Regions from separate parts of the Homo sapiens genome. Here regions 1, 2, 3, 4, 5 and 6 are each linked to region 7. The links are contacts of gene promoters, found by promoter capture Hi-C in blood cells and fetal thymus (Javierre and others, 2016). All regions are on one chromosome and are shown on one strand. Each heading gives the region's core, a stretch centred on a gene start or on the middle of the fragment in contact. The rest is flanking DNA. Distances are from core to core; before and after follow the strand shown.

Region 1 (2,700 bases), core at 17-2,516, 260 kb after region 7:
TGTTACCTTAAAATGCTAAATACAATAGAAATAATTGAATTTCCTTCTCAACTGCTGAACTCCCATCAGATTTTTAATGATGGTTATTCTAAGTCTTTGACATCCATAGTTTTGATTTTTCTCTAAAGGTATCTGCAATCAGATTCATGGAAAAGACTCTAATAAGTACTCTTAAATACAAGTTTCTAATAACTTCAAGATTAATGAACTAAATAAAACTTTTCACAACTGCAGTGAAGAAACTGATGAATTTGTGAAACTGCTAATCAAGATCAAGCATAACAAAAACTAATTACATGAAATTGAATAACTGATAATGTTTTTATAACTTTTAATTTAAACATTGTTGGTTTTTTACTGAAATGTTTTGTCTTCCAAGTTTAAGGAAACATTTTCTCTTAAGCTATCTATAGTTTACAACAATTTGGTAAAATATACTTCTGTGAACAAAGGTGGAAATATTTATTTTTTTCTATTTGATCCCTTCAAAATTTGGAAGTGATTTGCTAGTGTTTCTTAAATGACAATATAATTATTTGCATACATTCAGTATGAATCTGTACCTCCTTGTAACATGATACAGTTAAAAACATTGGTTGTATTACCAATTAAAACTGGAATGCCATATTTAAATTTTTATTGGTACTGCAAACAAAGTCTGAAGTCTGCCTTTGTTTGGCTTTCTAGACTCAAGGAGGTTTAAAATCTGAGATTCTTGGCCAGGCACGGTGGCTCACACCTGTAATCCCAGCACTTTGGGAGGCCGAGGCGGGCGGATCAAGAGGTCAGGAGATCAAGACCATCCTGGCCAACATGGTGAAACCCCATCTCTACTAAAAATACAAAGAAAATTAGCCAGGCGTGGTGGCGGGCGCCTGTAGTCCCAGCTACTCGGGAGGCTGAGGTAGGAGAATGGCAGGAACCCGGGAGGCGGAGCTTGCAGTGAGCCGAGATCGCGCCACTGTACTCCAGCCTGGGCGACACAGCGAGACTCCGCCTCAAAAAAATAAAATAAAATAAAATCTGAGATTCTTTTGTGCTCAATTTACTACTCTTGCTGCTCTTATGTAAATTATTAAGTAATAAATAAACTTTAAAAAACTAAAATAATAAAACTAATAAAATAATACAAGAACCTAAAATAATAATAAAACTAAACTTATTTACAAACAAATCAGTCTTACTGTAATTATCTTTGGTAGAAATTAGGATAACTATATAGAGACAAAATTATGTTTCTAGAAAAGGACTATAATACATCTGTTATTAGATTGTAGTTCTGTGCATTGTCTTTGAGTTTTTATTATCTACTGTAGACCAGACTGGATCCTAAGTTATTCTAGGTTCCCTAATCTAATTTTCTCCCATGTTATTACTAAGAATGGGAACTACTCTTTCCTAAAGCCCTGTAAGCTGAAGCTAGAAAACTTGATGTAAATTTTAAGAGACAAGCCTCATGCCTGATTTGTGGGTCATGCAGAAAGTTCACCAAACCACCCGATGCTATAACGAGAGACATTCAAACTACAAACCAGGATGAGAAGTTGATGTCTTTATGCTGTGGACAGCTTTCTCAAGATGCCAGAACAATCTTTATCATAATGAGACTGTTGCCCCTCTTAGTTTGTCCTTGCCTATGCTTAACTTTTTCACTGGGCAGGATAATGGTGTAGTTAAAATTTTACAATTAGTAGCTTATGTGGACAACTTGACAAAATGTTAGATCTGTTATGCCAACTGTAGATCTTTACATGACCAAAGAATCCTTTAGTCCAACTTTAAAAATATTCCTAATACAACTGTCACTCACTCTATGCTTTTAATTCAACCCAGTCATGAGATATCAGATGACAAAATTTTTCTATATTATCTACTGGTTAAATAAGGTAGTGTCTATGCTATTGCTAGGACTACATGCATACCTGGATAAATTCCTCTGGGGAAGTTGAGACCCAAATACACAAAATAAGAAAACACGCACATAGTTACATTAGGTCTCACCTAATTCCCAATGATCATTTGATTGATTCAGTTGCTTGCCTTTAAGCCCAGGTTCATGGCTCGAAACCATTATGCAAACTGGGATGATCATATTAGTATAAATTTTACTTCGTATCTTTCTTTTTAAACTTTGTACCTGTTGCCTGTCAAATTTCTGTGGAAGTACAACTCCTAACACAATAATGCTGGCCTACAGCTTTGAAATAATAGCCCACACCTACAGAACAAACAAAATTGAACTTAACAACGGACTCCAGGTAGACCTAGCCTAAGAGCCACTCCCTCCAAACCTCCATTGTTGCTCAAATGTCATGACCTTACACAAACAAAACTACTTCCATGAAGACATCTACCCAGCAACTGGCTGTCCAACCTTGGACTGATACCACCGTTGTTACTGAACCCTGTGGTCAAGAAAAATTGTTTCAAAACAACTTATGTGGCCCTTTTCATTTTTCCTTATAAAACTCTTGTCTTCATTTACCTCCCTGAATATACCCACTGTATTCCCATTGAAATGCTCATTCCTGAATAAATGTAATTTTATTTTAGAGAGACTCTGTCTCTTCTATTTAGATTGACATTTATATCAGACAAAATAGACTTAAGACAAAAACTGTCACAAGAGACAAAGAAGGATATCATATAATGATTAAAAGTTCAACTCACTAGGAAGATACAACAATGACAGTTGTTCCT
Region 2 (2,746 bases), core at 110-2,609, 380 kb after region 7:
TTACATGCTGGATTCATGGGTAATTATAAACTTGTACTACTCGTATTTCTCCAATTTCTGAACGCTCCACAATCATACCGCTGCATAACAAGTGAAATATTTGTAATAAATGAAATAGTTCTAATGAATGAAATAGTTGATAAACTCCCAGAACAGTCCAAGCCCATAAGCCTTGCTCTCAAGGCTCCCTTCAATCAAGTCCTAGCTTGCTTTCCCCACTAGATTCCAGCTAGTTCCTCTGCCTCAATGAGAATGTATCCAAAAGATTATCAACTAAGGCTCTGACCTGTAACGCCCAGGTTTCAACCGCAGCTCCACCTCTTACTGCTTAGGTGACTATTCTCAGATAACTCCTGCTCCTTTGTATCTCACTCATCTTTAAAACTGAAAAAAGTAGTACCTCTCCACAGAGCCACGGTGTGGCGAAAATGTGACTACTTGTATAAAGCTCTTGGGATAAAGTTACCAATTGAGGCTTAATTATTATCAACACCCATGCCTGAGGACACATCCTACACTCTTGGTCGGGGTGAGCATCTCTGTAAAAGAAAAAAAGCCAAGGACCACTCTCGTGGAACTTTGCCCTCAGTAGCCAAGAAGTCCCTCCCTGCAGCTCTTTTTGAGAATCAGGCTGGGGAAGGAGAAAGCTGTGAAACACCCTGACCGCATTGCCGTCCGGCATAAAAGTTAAATGTTCCTCTCCCTTCGTGGAAATGGAAACAACCCTCGCCTTCCTAAAAAGAGGTCAGAAGCGTCCGGGATCACCCAGCGTCCTGCAGGAATCAGAGACAAGGGCGGGGATCCCTGCAGATGGAGCTCTGACCCCACCCGGGGACCTGACAGGCTTCGTGGGAAATAAACACTAAGAAGAGACCACCAGTCACTAAGGGAGGGGCTGCTTTAAGGCTTTCATTTGTGTTACCTCTTCCAGTTCCCAAAACGATTTCATTAGGATGGTCCTAAAGTCCCCATTTTAAAGAACAGCAGTGGGAGGTACAGGGAGATTAATAACATCCCAACCCTAAATTGTGAGAAAGTAGCCTCACAGGTGGGATGGAGGGAGGCGGACTGAGCGAGCTGAGAGCCCCAAAAACCCTCAAACCAGGCGAGACGCGTCCCGACCAAGTCCCAACCCCCAGCCTCATGCCCGGGGACGCGAGGACAGCCCCAAGACCAAGAAGGCTCCGCTGACAAGAACGAAAAGAGAGGCCGTTGTCCCTCCAAACCTCCGTTTTCCAACGAGACTCCTTCTCCCCTTAGTCAACTTCCAGGTGGTTGCGAGCCAGCATCGTAAGGGGACACGTTTAGAAGGACCGACAAGACACAGGACTGACACCAAACTACCACCGAATGCACTGCAGCAACCTCGCCCCCCGGGAGCGGAAGTGCCCCTACCCCGCGCAGCGTGTGAACTACATTTCCCAGAATTCCCCGGATACGCCGTCCTGAGCCTACTTGCTCGTCATTCAACAGATCTCCTGCGCTACACTTCCTTGAATCTCAAAGGAGACGTTCTATAGTATCACCTTCCGGCGGGAAGCGTGGGACTCCGCGGTGCTCTTTGACTACACTTCCTGCAATGCCCACGAGGAATGAATCCCATAGACCCAAGCGCCTGGTTTGGAATATGGACTGTGGCCCTGAGAGTGGTCCTTCCCTCTCCCTGCGTCCTCGAGAGAAAATATTGAATAGACAGGAATTCCTGAAGTCTACACGCCTCCCATGATGACAGGAGTGTTACTGAAAGAGAACAAAGCAAGGAGATACAATCTTCAAGGAGTTAGCGGGGAGTGACTGTGGAGCGGTCAGGAGATGGCTGAAAGGCTAATATACTAGACGCTAATAGTATGAGGCTAAATCTAAGAGCTTAAATAATGGGCCAGGAAAAATGGTTTGGGAGAGGCATTGAGTGGGGCACCAGCCCCTGGTACAACCAGACACTGTTGTACCACTGGTTTGGCAAGAAAAACAACCACAGTTTAAGTGTTTAAGAGGGCTGTAAGAGTTAAAGAGAAAAAAAAAAAAAACACGAAAAGCGGCTCAACAGTCAAAGACAGGTTCGTTTTGGAGAATAAACCGAGAGGGCCTTCTGGCCGATTGCAGTCAGGAGCGCTCTCTCTTACGGACTAAGAGTATGTATTGGCTTTAGGGAGAGAGAGCTTACCACAGGCTTAGAATGTTTCTGTATTGGGGAGAAGTCTGTTGTGGGGTTGGAATATCTCTGGTTGGAGGGGAAGTTATCTTGGGACTGACATCTCTCCAATGGAAGGGAGGTTATCTCGGTGCTGGCATGTCTCTGGTCAGGGAGGGGTTTATCTTATGGTTGGAATGTTTCTGATTGGAGATGTCATTTGTGGTTTATGGTCATGCTGACCTTAGCCATTAGGCTGATGCCCTTTGGATTTAGGCAGTTTTTGATCAACGCGAACTTTAAAATGGCAGTGTTTGTCCAAGATGGCGATGCTCCTGCCCTGTCAAGGGCCAATATGGAGGGCCAATTGCCCTCCTGGAAAAGCTATCTTCCCACTTTTAAAGTTTTCATATTAATATTCTTTAGACGTGGAAATGCCACATTTAAGAGAAATTAAACTGCTTAGTATTGTGAAAGGAAAATATCTTGGGCCCCCAAAATCACTAAGGAAATCTCAAGCTGGAAATCGCTTAGGGCAAACCTGCCTCCCATTCTATTCAAAGTCACTCCTCTATCTGTCCTTGCTATCACGAGAACAGCATGGGAAAGACCCAC
Region 3 (2,700 bases), core at 15-2,514, 300 kb after region 7:
ATAAATATGTGCTATAAAAACCTATTTCTGAAAGGAGTTAGTTCGCTTGCCTTAGGTAGACAGCAAGGGAAGGGTCTTTGGAGAGCCCCTGACCCATGGGTTAGTGTCTTATTTTTATATAACATAAAAAGCAGCCTGGAAAAAAAATTTAAGCTGCAGGCACCAATAAGGGAACTACCACAGGGTGTTGTGCCTGGAGACATGCCCACGGCTGCACAGATAGAAAAACCTCCAGCCCATTTGGATAAAAGCTTGTACATACCTCCAGCTCGCTCAGATAAAGGAGCAAGGCCTGGCATAAGAATGCCTTTGTCCTCTGTATAGTCAGCGGGCTCCCAGGAAAAGGTTTCTTCTCCTTTTGTGGGCATAGGTACAGTGGGCTCCAGTGGGTTCCAGTGGGCACTCTACTTTCTTTTTTTCAAACTGTAAGTCCGGTCTCTATATATCTTTACTTCAACCTGATTGGTCCTGGGCCAAGGTTCCGGGCCAAGCTAAGTCACACTTTCTCCAAAATAGCCCACAAACTAAGCACATTCCTTCCCCTTCCCAGTCCATAAAAACCCCAAACCCCTGCCTCATAGGGGGAATTCCATTTGGGTCCCCCTCTCTGCTGGCAAAAAGCTTTCTTCTTTTGCTTATTAAACCTTCACTCTAACCTCACATTTCTGTCTGCACTCATTAATCTTCTTAAAAATAAAACAAAAAACTCCAGGTGTTATCTCAAACAACAGAAAAACTGTTACATCTTGGTGCATTACTAAAATTACATTTCTAACCAATGTCTTTTTTTTTTGAGACAGTCTCACTCTGTCACCCAGGCTGGAGTGCAGTGGCGTGATCTAGGCTCACTACAACCTCTGCCTCCTGGATTCAAGCGATTCTCATGCCTCAGCCTCCCAAGTAGGTGGGATAAGAGGCATGCACCACCACACCTGGTTAATTTTTGTATTTTTTATTTTTTGGTAGAGATAGAGTTTCATCATGTTGGCCAGGCTGGTCTCGAACTCCCGACCTCAGGTGATCCACCTGCCTCAGCCTCCCAAGGTGCTGGGATTGCAGGCGTGAGCCACTGTGCCTGGCCCCCGTTTATTTTCATTAAATCTCCTCCCACAAGTTCTCACACCACTCATGCAATTTACCAGTTTTATTTGCTATGTATTCCATTAATTTTAGTGAACTCTGATATTTCTATCTCATTTTATTTCACTAAAAACTACTGATAGGAAAGTCAGGTCTACAAATGTAGGCGACTAATTCAAGACCTCCAAAGTGTTGAACCCCTGAAGACACAAAATCACTCCAAGAGACTGACATTGAGTGTTAGAAAGCTCATGTCCTCACCCACTGACAGCAGGTTCCTGAAGTTCTCCAGCATCACATCTTGGTACAGATTCCTCTGGACAGGGTCCAGCAGCCCCAGCTCCTCCTCAGTGAAGACCACAGCCACATCCTTGAAGGTCAGTCCCTCCTATAACATCAAACACACCTTACTTCAGCCTTTTTAACAAACTCTTGAAAAGAAACAGCACTGAGAAAGTGGAGAGTATGTAGGGGGAGCTGGTCCAGATTTTCAGAGACTTAATGTGTAGATTTCTCAGCCCTTCTCCTTCCATCTTACCAATGCCACACTTTGATTTTCCTTAGTGTCAGTAAAAGTACATCAGTAACAATAGCCTTCAATTCCTTTGTGGCTTCACTGAGTCTATTTGTAAGTAACCATCTAGAACTCTAAATGACGCATCCTGAGCCACACGGGTTTCACCTTTCGGTAAATATTACCAATTGCCCCAGAAACATTTAGCAAGTCAGAACCAACATACATGATAACACCCACCTTCCTCCTCTCTCACATAGGAACGCTGGATGCTATCCCTTTTCATTAAAGTCTGCCAAACTAACAAGCTTTTGGTAACATATCTAAAACTGCTATGTAGTTTTCCTTCTGTACACCCAGGGCACACAGCACCAGCATTACCTGCAGCATTTAGTGTCATGATCTGGAGCCATCATGCCTCAGTGCACACAAGGGTACCCTTCAAAGTTGTGTGATCTTGGATAAGTTCACCTAGTTTCATCTTGGTATGATAGTTCTTACATGACAGAGTTCTTTCAAACGTTGAAAAAGAAACTACATATAGCATTTGGAATAGTGTATGGCGCAGACTAAGTACCTAAGAAACATTAGCTATTATCTATTATTATTACCATCATCATCTATTTCACCTCATTTCATGACTGTATATTATTCGAGGGAACTGAAATCTGCATCTACCTGTTCTAATTAATGAATATTTAATTTTCAATATTGTTTTCATTATAACCAATCCAGCAAAGAACATCATTTCATGTAGATCTTACTTTCTTTCCTTTTTTTTTTCTTTTTTTTGAGACAGAGCTTCACTCTTGTTGCCCAGGCTGGAGTGCAATGGCACAATCTTGGCTCACTGCAACCTCTGCCTCCTGGGTTCAAATTATTCTCCTGCCTCAGCCTCCCGAGTAGCTGGGATTATAGGCATGCGCCACCATGCTCAGCTAATTTTGTATTTTTAGTAAAGATGGGATTTCACCATGTTGGTCAGGCTGGTCACGAACTCCTGATCTCAGGTGATCCGCCTGCCTTGGCCTCCCAAAGTTCTGGGATTACAGGCATGAGTCACCCGACTGTCAGATCTTACCTTCGTGTGTATTTAAAATGATTGC
Region 4 (2,700 bases), core at 100-2,599, 340 kb after region 7:
AAACATTTTTATCACCCAAAGAAAACCCCATGCCCACTAAGCAATCACTACTGTTGTCCATAATCCCATTCCTGGGGAAACATGAATCTTTCTCTCTTTTCTATTACCTATTTTGGACAAATCATAAAAATGAATGGAACATTTTGTTTCTAACTCCCTTTGCTTAGCATAATATTTTTAATGTTATTCACATCATACCACGTATCAGTACTTCATTCCTTTTCATAGATGAATATTTTATGTTTATACTACAATTTGTTTCTCCATTCATACATTGACGCACATTTGGCTTCTTTTCACCTTTTGGCTGTAGTGAACAGTGTTGCTACAAATGTTCGTGTATACGTATTTGTTTCATTACCAGCTTTCAGTTTTGGTTGTTTTTTGTTTGTTTTTTGTTTTGAGAGGGAGTTTCGCCTCCCGCGTTCAAGCGATTCTCCTGCCTCAGCCTCCAGCGTAGCTGGGATTACAAGCATGTGCCACCACGCCCGGCTAATTTTGTATTTTTAGTAGAGAGGGGGTTTCTCCATGCTGGTCAGGCTGGTCTCAAACTCCCGACCTCAGGTGATTCACCCGCCTCGGCCTCCCAAAATGCTGGGATCACAGGCGTGAGCCACCGCGTCCAACCGTGTATTCCACTTCTTTCTGCTGCTGAGACACAATAATTTCAGATGACTTCTCTTTATATTCACTCATTCTGAATACAGCAAGAGTAGGGAGATGAATATTAGGTGCACTTACCTGTGGCTTCAGAGCCTGCACAAACACAATCTCATATATACCACTTCCAAATGGAATACTAATCTGCACATGTAACTTAAAAAGGTGCAGGGGTCAACACCCGATTCATGATGGAAAGCATAAGTCACATGTTAATTTGGTGGTCTGTGGTCAAGTGTTCTGTCCGTTTTAAGACCCCTAGTGGCCGGGCGTGGTGGCTCACACCTGTAATCCCAGCACTTTGGGAGGCCAAGGCGGGTGGATCACGAGGTCAGGAGTTTGAGGCCAGCCTGGCCAAGATGGTGAAACCCCGTCTCTACTAAAAATACAAAAATCAGCCGGGTGCGGTGGCGGGGCACCTGCAATCCTAGCTACTCGGGAGGCTGAGGCAGGAGAATCGCTTGAAACCGGGAGGCAGAGGTTGCAGTGAGCCAAGATTGCACCACTGCACTCTAGCTTGGGCCACAGAGCAAGACTCGTCTCAAAAAACAAAAACAAAAACAAAACAAAACAAAACACCCTAGCAAAATGAAAAGCTTCTTCTCCAGAGGAGAGTAAGTATATGCAGAGGATGGCAGAAATTTGCTTCAAAATACTAAGCATCTGAATTTTGATTCTCCAATTAGGGCCAACCATAGGCTTCAAACATACTATCTGCCACGGACATTTCAAACACTTTTGGACCCCCGGGGTCACAGGGTTTTAGTGGCAGAGAAGCTTACGTGGAAGCTGGGACATATTACACAAACTTCTCTTGTCTGGGACAAGTCAAAGTTTTTGGGTCACTCATAAAAGTCAGAGTAGCACAATCGAAACAATAAGTTGCATCCAATATCAAAAATGGCACACTAAGCATTGTGACATTTTCTTTGCTTGTAGGGGGGTGATAAGCCCTATTTGTTCTATACCTTAGAAAATATATCACTTTAACTTAACACACTTAAGATATTACTATGGTGTATACCTGATGAATTAACATCTGACAATAGTTTGAATATGTATCCCCTCCAAATCTCATGTTGAAGTATGACCTCCAGTGTTGGAGGTCGGGACTATTGGAAGGTGCTTGGTCATGGAAGCAGATCCTTCATAAACATTGGTGTCCCCACCATGGTAATGAATGAGTTCGCACTCTTAATTCACACAAGAGCTGGTTGTTTAAAAGATCGTGGCATAAAAAAATTAAAAATGCATGGAAGTATAAAATGGAAAAATGCCTGCAAACACTCATTGCCAGCAAAGATCAGTAAAAATATTCATTTACACAGTATGTAAACACTCAAAAGAACATAAAACACACAAAGATATTTATTTGATTAGGTTATGAAGGCTAAAAAAAGCCACATTGTTTTTCTCCTTTTGTTATTGTGTCTATGTCATCATCTCATTGAGTTCATATTATTATAGGAATAAATGCAATTCACACAAATTCCTGTTCTTGAACACTTGTTCTTTCCATTTTAAAATGCAGTGACATCATCAATGTGGTCTTCTACTTTTTGGAGTTTTAGTGTCATAGGCATAGTTTCCTATCCTATGGTTTTCATATCAAACAGTTGCACCTTATACATTCTGGCATGTTCTGCTCTCCAAAAGACATATTTTTACTGCCAGCAATAAAGAGGAGGATTTAAATGTTACTCCTGCCCCCAATAATGAATATATTTGATGAAATTACCAAACTCCATTTTCTCTTCCTGTTTCATAGCGTTGGTGGAAGAATATTGGATAAGAAGGTTGACAAAAGCTGTCATTCAAATTTAGAATATTTTATACCAGAGAAGTTAAAAAAAAAAAAGAAATTGTACAGCAATTAAAAGGCAATCATACCAAGGCCTGCATAGAAATCACAAATCATGATCAATCTAGGATTGACTAAGAAAATTTCTGTCAATGTACATCTGGCACTTTAAAAGTGTTACTGTAAATCTTGCCTTAATACTGTTGAAAACACTTAATTGTGAAATATGCAGTGGTCTG
Region 5 (2,700 bases), core at 158-2,657, 350 kb after region 7:
AATTATTTTTTAGTAGAGATGCGGTTTCACCATGTTGGCCAGGCTGGTCTCGAACTCCTGACCTCGTGATCCGCCCGCCTGGACCTCCCAAAGTGCTGGGATTACAGGCGTAAGCCACCGCGCCAGGCCCATTTTGTTCTTAATAAAGAAAAATAGAATGCTGTACAATGACATGGTTCTATAAGAATACAAAATATTTGTAATGATTGAAACAAAATAGTTGACAACATTTTTAGAAACTCAGAAAATTTCAAGCCCCTAAGTCTTGCTTTCCCCACCTAAGTCCAACTAGTTCCTCTGCCTCAGTGACAACGTATCCCAAGAGAAGATCAAATCAGGCTCTGACCCAGACTGCTTAGGTTCCAACCCCAGCTCCACCTCTCACTAGTCGGGTGCCTATGCGCTCTGTGTCTCACTTTCGTTTTTAAAATAGAAAAAAGCAATACTTCTCCACAGAGCCACGGTGTGGCGTAAATTTATTTGTATAAAGCCCTTAGAATGAAGTTACTAATTAAGACTTAATTATTATCGACCCCCATGCCCGAGGACACAACCTATACACTCTCGGTTGGGGTGAGCATCTCGGTCAAAGAGCCAAGGACCACTCACGTAGAGCTTTGCCCTCAGAAGCCAAGAAGTCCCTCCCTGCAGCTCTTCTGGAAAGGTCGGGTTGGGGAACGAGAAAGCTGTGAAACACCTTGACCGCGTCGCCGTCCCCCATAAAAGTTAAATGCTCCTTTCCCTTCATGAAAGTGGACGCAACCCTCGCTCTCCTAAAAAGAGGTCAGAAGGCTTCCGGGATCATCCAGCGTCCTGCAGGGATCAGGGAGAAGGGCCGAGGCCCCTGCAGCTGGAGCTCTGACCCCACCCGGTCCTTCGTGGGAAATTAACAAGAGACCACCAGTCACCAAGTGACAGGGACTGCTTTAAGGCTCTCATTTGTGTTACCTCTTCCAGTTCCCAAAACGATTCCATTAGGATGGCCCTAAAGTCCCCATTTTAAAGAACAGTAACGGGAAACCCAAGGAGATTAACACCCCAACGTTATATCGAGAAGAAGTGGCCACGCGCGTGGGGTGCAGGGGGCGGAGTGGGCGAGCTCAGAGCCCCGGAAACCCTGAAACCAGGTGAGACGCGACCCAACCAAGTACCAATGCCCCCGGGAAGCGAGGACAGACCCAAGCCCAAGAAGGTGCCACGGACGAGAACGCAAACAGCGGCCCTTGCCCCTCCAAACCTCTACTCTCCGACGAGGCCCCTTTTCCCCTAATTCGATCACCAGTTCTTTGAGGATCCAATGCGTAGGTCCAGGAAATTCAGAAGGGCCTGCAACGCGCGGAACTGCCCCAAACTATCGCGGAAAAACTGCAGCAACCTCAGTCCCCGAGCGGAAGTGTCCGCGACTCCACCGAATGTTTGGACTCCACTTCCCAGAATTCCCCGGGACCCGCCAGCCGGAGCCAAACTGACCGCGACTCCACTGAGCGTCTGGACTACACTTCCCAGAATTCCCTGGGACCCAACTGCCGGAGCTAAACCGACCGCGATTCCACTGAGGGTCTGGACTGTACTCCTGCAGCATTACACTCAAAGGGAAGTGTTGACGACTACTGGGAAGCCCTTGACCACTCTTCCCACGGGGAACGAATCTCGTACCCCCGAGCGCCTGTTGGGAAATGTGGACTTCTACCCTGAGAGTCGTCCTTCCCTCTCCCTGGGTGCCTAAGAGAAAATACCGTATAGAAAGGAATTCCTGAAGTCTAAACCCCTCTAGTGAGGACAGGAGTGTTACTGGAAAGGGAACAAGCGAGATGATACACTCTTCAAATAAGTTTTGCCAGTGGTAAGAAATGGCATGTAGTTTTAATTTATAACTCTTGTAAAGATGGCATATTCTTGCATATTTTCAGGTGTCATTATTACATTTTTTGTAAATTGTCCAGATGTTTTGCCCACTTTCTTATTGAGTTTTTGGTTTTATCCCTCACTTTTCAAGCACTGTTCTTATATTCATGATATTAACATTTTATCTCGCAAATATTTTCTCAACAAAAACGTTTTTTTTTATTGTTTTATCTATGCAAAACATTTTAATGTATTTTATTATTTAAAACATCTCTATTGAGGTGTAATGCACAAAACGTGAAATTCACCATTTTAGGATATATGTAGTACAAATAAAAAGTTAGGAAACATTTTCATCACCCCAAAAACCCCATACCCACTAAGCAGTCACTGTCTAACACTAATCTCTGTCCTATTGAATTACCTATTGTGGACATTTCATATAAATGGAATTATACATTATGGAACCTTTTGTTTCTGACACCTTTCACTTAGCATCCTGCTTCTTTTTTTTTTTTTTGAGACGGAATCTCAAAAAAAGTGCCAGGCTGGAGTGCAGTGGCACGATCTTAGCTCACTGCAACCTCCGCCTCCCGGGTTCAAGCGATTCTCCTGTCTCAGCCTCCCGAGTAGCTGGGACTACAGGCGCGTGCCACCACGCCTGGCTAATTTTTCTGTATTTTTAGTAGAGACGGGGTTTCACCGTGTTAGCCAGGATGGTCTCGATCTCTTGACCTCGTGATCCTCCCGCCTCGGCCTCCCAAAGTGCTGGGATTACAGGCGTGAGCCACCGCGCCCTGCCAGCATACTGCTTTTAAAGTTCATCCACATCACAGCATGTACCAGTACTTCATA
Region 6 (2,700 bases), core at 129-2,628, 320 kb after region 7:
GAACCATGGAATGCCTATTAAGATTTGCTCTACTACGGAAGCTCTTACAACATATATCACATTTGAATGGCTTCTCCCCAGTATGGATTCTTTGATGTTCCTGAAGCTGGGAATCATGAATGAAGGCCTTCCCACATTTCTCACAAATATGAGGTTTCACTCCTGTGTGTAATTTACGATGAACATAAAGTCCTGATCTACGACTAAAGCCTTTCCCACACTGCTCACATTTGAATGGTTTCTCTCCAGTGTGGATTCTCTGATGAATTTGCAGATGTGAGCTCTGATTGAATTCCTTACCACACACATCACAATTATAGAGTTTCTCCCCCATGTGAACTCTCTGATGAATACGAAGAGCTGAGCTATAACAGAAACTCTTTCCACATTCATCACATGTATGAGACTTCTCTCTTGACTGTAGTTGTTGATGAAGATCAAGGACGGAGACATCACTAAAGGACTTTTTACACGTCCTACCCTCAGAAGGTTTCTGTCTTACGTGAATTATAGATAGTCCTGCATCAACCTGGCAGGGCATATCATCTTGTTTGGAGAACTGAAAGCTGTTTACCATGGAGTCTTGAAACCTGGTTAAGTCACTTGAAATTTGTTCCCAGGTTTGATGACTGAACAAGCCTTCATGTGTTCCTGATTCTGAAACAGTCTCCATCTCCATTTGGATCTTGCCTCCTATAATGACACAGAATTAAGAGATGTGGGCAAGTAAAGCTTTTATTCAGTGTTATCAAGATTTCATACTTAGGACATAGCCTGAAATTTTAATAAATATAGGGAATGTTCAGATTGTATTTTCCTTTTTTTTTTTTTTTTTTTTTTTTGAGATGGAGTCTCGCTCTGTCCCCCAGGCTGGAGTGCAGTGGCGTGATCTCCGCTCACTGCAAGCTCCACCTCCTGGGTTGTTCACACCATTCTCCCGCCTCAGCCTCCTCAGTAGCTGGGACTATAGGCGCCCGCCACCACGCCCAGCTAATTTTTTGTATTCTTAGTACAGATGGGTTTTCACTGTGTTAGCCAGGATGGTCTCGATCTCCTGACCTCGTGATCCGCCCTCCTCAGCCTCCCAAAGTGCTGGGATTACAGGTGTAAGCCACTGCGCCCAGCCCTGTATTTTCCTTTTTTAAAGAGAGTGTCTCCCTCTGTCACCCAGGCTGGAGTGCAGGGACACAATCATGGCTCGCTGCAGCCTTGACCTCCTGGGCTCAAGTGATCCTCCCACCTCTGCCTCCTGAGTAGCTAGGACTACAGGCACATACCACCATAACTAGCTAATTTTTACACTTTTTGTAGAGACAAGGTCTTGCTATGTTGCCAAGGCTGGTCTTGAACTCCTGGCCACAAGTGATACTCCCATTTTGGCCTCCCAAAGTGCTGGGATTACAGGCTTGAGCCACTGTGCCCAGCCAATGTGTTTTCCAGGTACACTATGGACTCTGGTTTGCATGAGACCAATTCAGAACCACACCACGTGTCATATGTGAAATACTTGGTAGAAATAAAACCTTGCATGGTAAATTATGTAACTAATAAATTATGTAAACAGTGAAATATGAATCAAATGTGAACTTTAAGGAGAAGCCATAACATCGTCAAAACTTTGTATATTTTAGTTTGTATTGTATATCCTTATGAAGTAAAGAAATTATCCTAAGTCACAAAGAGGCCTGGGTGATGTCCTCAGCATCTGAGAGGCAATCTCTCAGTCCTTAAAATGTCATGCCCTAGGAGAGTGTCTTTGTTTGCCTGGAGGTAGTAGGTCTAGTAAGTCACTCTGGACGGTGTAATTCTACGATTTAGGATTATGGGTGGCCACACCTATGAGGAGAATGTGGTGCTCACTATGTGAGAAAGACCAACAATGTGATTTATGGTGAGGCTTTAGGTCATGTGGAATCAGTCAACCAGGAGACTGAGACTACTCATACGGGAAAGAAATCAACCAATAATGGCTATGTAATTAACAGACAACGATTACTCTGAATACCAGGGCTCAGGAAAGCTTCCCTGATAGGCTCTCCTCCCGTCTAATGTCACACCTTAATCTTGGGGATGTAATGCATCCTGATTTCATGGGGAGAGTACAATAAAAAGTTCTCATTTGATACTTCCCTGGACTCTGTCTTACTTGATTTTTCTCCTAATTGTAATATGCATCTTTCCCCTATAAAAACCCATAATTTTAAGAATATGGAACATGAAAATAATTTGGGGAAACCACTGAATTTGTCATTGGTATGCAGTGACAGCAGTCTTCTGTGAGCTGTCACTTTAAACTTTGCAATTGGTTAAGCTCTTCACAATACTAAATATCAAATACCTAGGAGTATTTATGTCTACATTTTCAGAGTATTCCTGTACAAGAATTTTTGCAGAACATGTATAATCTCATTTGTCTGTACTGATATGAACAATAACTTGGTTACCTGAAATAGAAAAGGATCAGAAACCTTCAGTTTTGATGGGAATCTGAAAGGCTGGACCTGACAGAAATACACAAAGGGGGATGATCCTGATGAGACAATGAAAGTTGGTAAGATCACCTGGGATGAAAAGAACGCCTAAGGGGTCATGCCCTGATTGGTTCCATGTGAAGTTATTGGACTGTCTCATTGAAAACAGATAGCAGAAAAAATATGATGTAAAGAAACAGACCTTTATACCCATTTTCAAAATAAACAC
Region 7 (2,700 bases), core at 136-2,635:
TCTGAAGGGCTTGGATGCTTTGGAGTCAATTGGCAATTTTTTAGAATTTATCAAAACAATTCGATAATCTGTTTATAAGAGAGAGTTCTAGAACTTCTAGGATGAAATTTTTGAAACACAACAAGGAGGGAGAGATAAGGAAATGAGTTATCACTGTAACTGAAACCTTTCATCATGGCACAGAAAAAGCAATCTCTATCTTCAGAACACACTTGTATCCCAGAAAATATTTCATTATATATATAGTAATGTAGTAAGTGATTAGGATGCCGTTTAAATCAGAAAGGAAAGAATTAATATTTATGTAAATTTTGTTAAGAAAAGTAGACAATCCTTTGGTGAAACAGGAAACTCCATCTTCCTTTCATATCATACACTTAAATGAATCACGCGGTGATTCAAAAGAAAAATGAAAGAGCCTGAAATGAATATAGATATGCACTTATTGGGAATCAGGCTAAGGAATGTCTTTTTGGTCATACTGGAGAAAAAAAAGAAGCCACAAATGAAAAGACTGATATACCTTGTCAGATGAAGTTTTTTGTTTTTTTTTTTTTCTAAACTACTTTATAAATGTTGAAACTGGGGGAGCAATTCATCACTTAGAAGCGATATCATTCATACACAGAGAGTGTATGACAATAAAAGATGACAATGAAATGCAATCGGTAATAAGCATATTTACTCTGTCAAATTGGGAAAATAAGACAGGATATTTAGTCCATCAAATTGGGAAAATATTAAAGAAAGTGATTGTGTGTAGTTTTGATATCATAAAATTAGAAGTGTAAGTTCAATGCAGGACAAAGGGGTAACTTCCCTAAAAACTAAAGAATGCTAGGCAAGTATTGCAAATAATTTGTGTTTTTTTATTATCTCTATGTATCTCTACGTCTTTTGTGACATACAGAACTATCCACGATATATGACCTGTGGCAAGAAATGATTACAAAATATTATGATGCCATTTGGGAAATGGGATTCTTAAGAATTCATATTTACTCACATAAACCAGGGATTAAGTAAGAATTTTTTTTAAACCATTCTTTACATGTAATATGAACTACTTTTGAAATAAATATTTAGTTGGCTTTTACACCAGAAAATCAATAATGCTTTATATCCCTGGTGATGGGATGATGGGCTTGTTTGAGAATATAGTCAGGTTTGCTACAACGCGAATATGTTAGTACTGAGTAAAGACATTCTTTTCAACTCAGAAACACCTTGCATGCCGCCTCCCGCCGCCTCGCAGTGGGCGTGACTCGAGGTGGACGCGCATTTACGACACCATCGCCCCTAGGATCGGACTGCGCTGCGGAGGGTTCTGGGAAAGGTAGTCCCACACCTCGAGTCGACTACTTCCGTTTCCGGTGGGCGCGTCACCTTGATTGCTTCTTAGGCAGTGGTGAGGCGTCTTAGAGACGTGCATCTCCATGCGGTTGTACTGTCAGGCCATGGGAATTAGGATCGGCTCTATAGGACCAGTGTGAAGGGACAACGTGCGGCGGAGGGTCGAAGCCCACGGATTTCCATGAGCTCGGCCTGGTGAGGCAGGGGTGTAAGGAGGCGCACGTATCGAACATTCTGAGCGCCTGTGCGGGGTGGGCCCGGGTCGGCAGCCCTCGCAGTCCAGGCTTGGAAAAGCAGTTTGAGGCCAGCTCTGGCTTTGAGATGAGATCTGCAGTGCGGGAGACTCCACTGTGTCAGTTGCGGATCGATGACATGAATTTTCTCAGGGTAGCCGCCCACCCACTTGTGGAGTAATTTCAGAGTTTTCTGCGAAGTCATTTCTGTAAACAGGAAGTTGATTCCCTGTGTTCTAATTTTATCCTTTGAAATGTATTAAGCGCTGTGCAAGTCCTAGGAGTTGGTTTGCTGTATCGTTGCTGGCTCTGCTTTTTGTAGCCGCCTAAGCACACACAGGCAGAATTTCACTTGTAAGTGTCCCACAGCATGTGACAGTCAGCTCTGGATTAAAATCTTGAGATTTTGTCTTGATTCTCCTTGTCTCCTGAAAGGGGCAGTGAAAGTAGGCTTGTAGACGGTTTCTTTGGGCATCAGGAATGGCGTGTCCCTTGTACTCTGAGTCCTGTAGGAAGAGAGGTTCTTTTCCTCGGCTCCTGAAGCAAGTAGCGAGGGTAGATTACAGGAAGGGGTAGATTACATCCAGCTGGCACTGAGAGATTTCCCCCTGTGGCGTGGTGGGAATTGGGATTAAATCATGTTATCCTGCTGTTCATTTTTCTTTCACAGGCTTCCTTCTTGGAATTGTTCGTTTCTCGGAGATAATTGTATAAAAGAAGGAGAAATAACCCCACATCTCTTGACACTAGAGCTCCAGGTGAGTGAACTTTGGTTCTCTTTTGTGGCAATGCCAGGTCTCTTGGTGACCTCATTCTTCATCCCATTGATATCACAAATGTTCATTCAGACCCCTTAGCCACACCTGCCTTCCCCTAGAAATGGGGGAGGTTTGAGGAATTTCCCAGTGTCTTTATTTAGTGTATTCTCTTCTTGGCTCCTAGTAGTGTGTCACTGGGTCAGTAAAGGCTTACACTGTTTCAGCGCCATGCTGAAGAAACGCAGGGTAGAAATAATTAGAGTAACTGTGATGGTGTATATTAACTGAGTGCTTACTATATGCCAGGTATTATTTATCCATGGTGTCTAGGACAGTGCCAGGCTTGCCAATAAATA

The links. Contacts are between HindIII fragments. The CHiCAGO score rates a contact against its expected background, and 5 or more counts as called.
Region 1: a contact is called between a fragment that was not itself captured here and the fragment with the promoter of ZNF229 in region 7, in 1 of 17 cell types (M2 macrophages). The highest score is 5.1, in M2 macrophages.
Region 2: the fragment with the promoter of ZNF284 here is called in contact with the fragment with the promoter of ZNF229 in region 7 in 5 of 17 cell types (naive B cells, erythroblasts, fetal thymus and 2 more); the score reaches 6.5 in naive B cells.
Region 3: a fragment that was not itself captured here is called in contact with the fragment with the promoter of ZNF229 in region 7 in 3 of 17 cell types (erythroblasts, total B cells and M2 macrophages); the score reaches 7.5 in erythroblasts.
Region 4: a fragment that was not itself captured here is called in contact with the fragment with the promoter of ZNF229 in region 7 in 4 of 17 cell types (total B cells, fetal thymus, naive B cells and 1 more); the score reaches 7.0 in total B cells.
Region 5: the fragment with the promoter of ZNF224 here is called in contact with the fragment with the promoter of ZNF229 in region 7 in 11 of 17 cell types (erythroblasts, naive B cells, fetal thymus and 8 more); the score reaches 10.6 in erythroblasts.
Region 6: a fragment that was not itself captured here is called in contact with the fragment with the promoter of ZNF229 in region 7 in 3 of 17 cell types (naive B cells, neutrophils and total CD8 T cells); the score reaches 5.8 in naive B cells.

What each region holds. Positions count from the first base shown.
Region 1 is chr19:44,188,652-44,191,351 of GRCh38, reverse strand. It overlaps a transcript of ZNF226 not described here. Among named protein-coding and RNA genes, the nearest start is that of ZNF227, 23 kb to the left of the region's middle. The HindIII fragment of the contact is 4,753 bases long and covers 1-2,700 here.
Region 2 is chr19:44,070,772-44,073,517 of GRCh38, reverse strand. ZNF284 (zinc finger protein 284) reads right to left here and starts at 1,359. Exons shown (of 5, transcript NM_001037813.4): 1 at 1,227-1,359. The HindIII fragment of the contact is 12,821 bases long and covers 1-2,746 here.
Region 3 is chr19:44,147,539-44,150,238 of GRCh38, reverse strand. It overlaps ZNF234 (zinc finger protein 234), which reads right to left. Exons shown (of 6, transcript NM_006630.3): 4 at 1,342-1,468. Among named protein-coding and RNA genes, the nearest start is that of ZNF234, 7.3 kb to the right of the region's middle. The HindIII fragment of the contact is 1,281 bases long and covers 624-1,904 here.
Region 4 is chr19:44,109,137-44,111,836 of GRCh38, reverse strand. It overlaps ZNF224 (zinc finger protein 224), which reads right to left. Exons shown (of 6, transcript NM_001321645.3): 6 at 2,011-2,700. The region is part of intron 1 of ZNF225-AS1 (ZNF225 and ZNF224 antisense RNA 1); the gene reads left to right. It also overlaps a transcript of ZNF225 not described here. Among named protein-coding and RNA genes, the nearest start is that of ZNF225-AS1, 2.7 kb to the left of the region's middle. The HindIII fragment of the contact is 181 bases long and covers 1,259-1,439 here.
Region 5 is chr19:44,093,068-44,095,767 of GRCh38, reverse strand. It overlaps ZNF224 (zinc finger protein 224), which reads right to left and starts at 1,407. Exons shown (of 6, transcript NM_001321645.3): 1 at 1,238-1,407. RefSeq lists an enhancer at 1,488-1,597. The HindIII fragment of the contact is 10,144 bases long and covers 1-2,700 here.
Region 6 is chr19:44,128,843-44,131,542 of GRCh38, reverse strand. ZNF225 (zinc finger protein 225) reads right to left here. Exons shown (of 5, transcript NM_013362.4): 5 at 1-693. Among named protein-coding and RNA genes, the nearest start is that of ZNF234, 11 kb to the left of the region's middle. The HindIII fragment of the contact is 1,288 bases long and covers 735-2,022 here.
Region 7 is chr19:44,447,157-44,449,856 of GRCh38, reverse strand. ZNF229 (zinc finger protein 229) reads left to right here and starts at 1,385. Exons shown (of 6, transcript NM_014518.4): 1 at 1,385-1,548; 2 at 2,257-2,344. The HindIII fragment of the contact is 11,359 bases long and covers 1-2,700 here.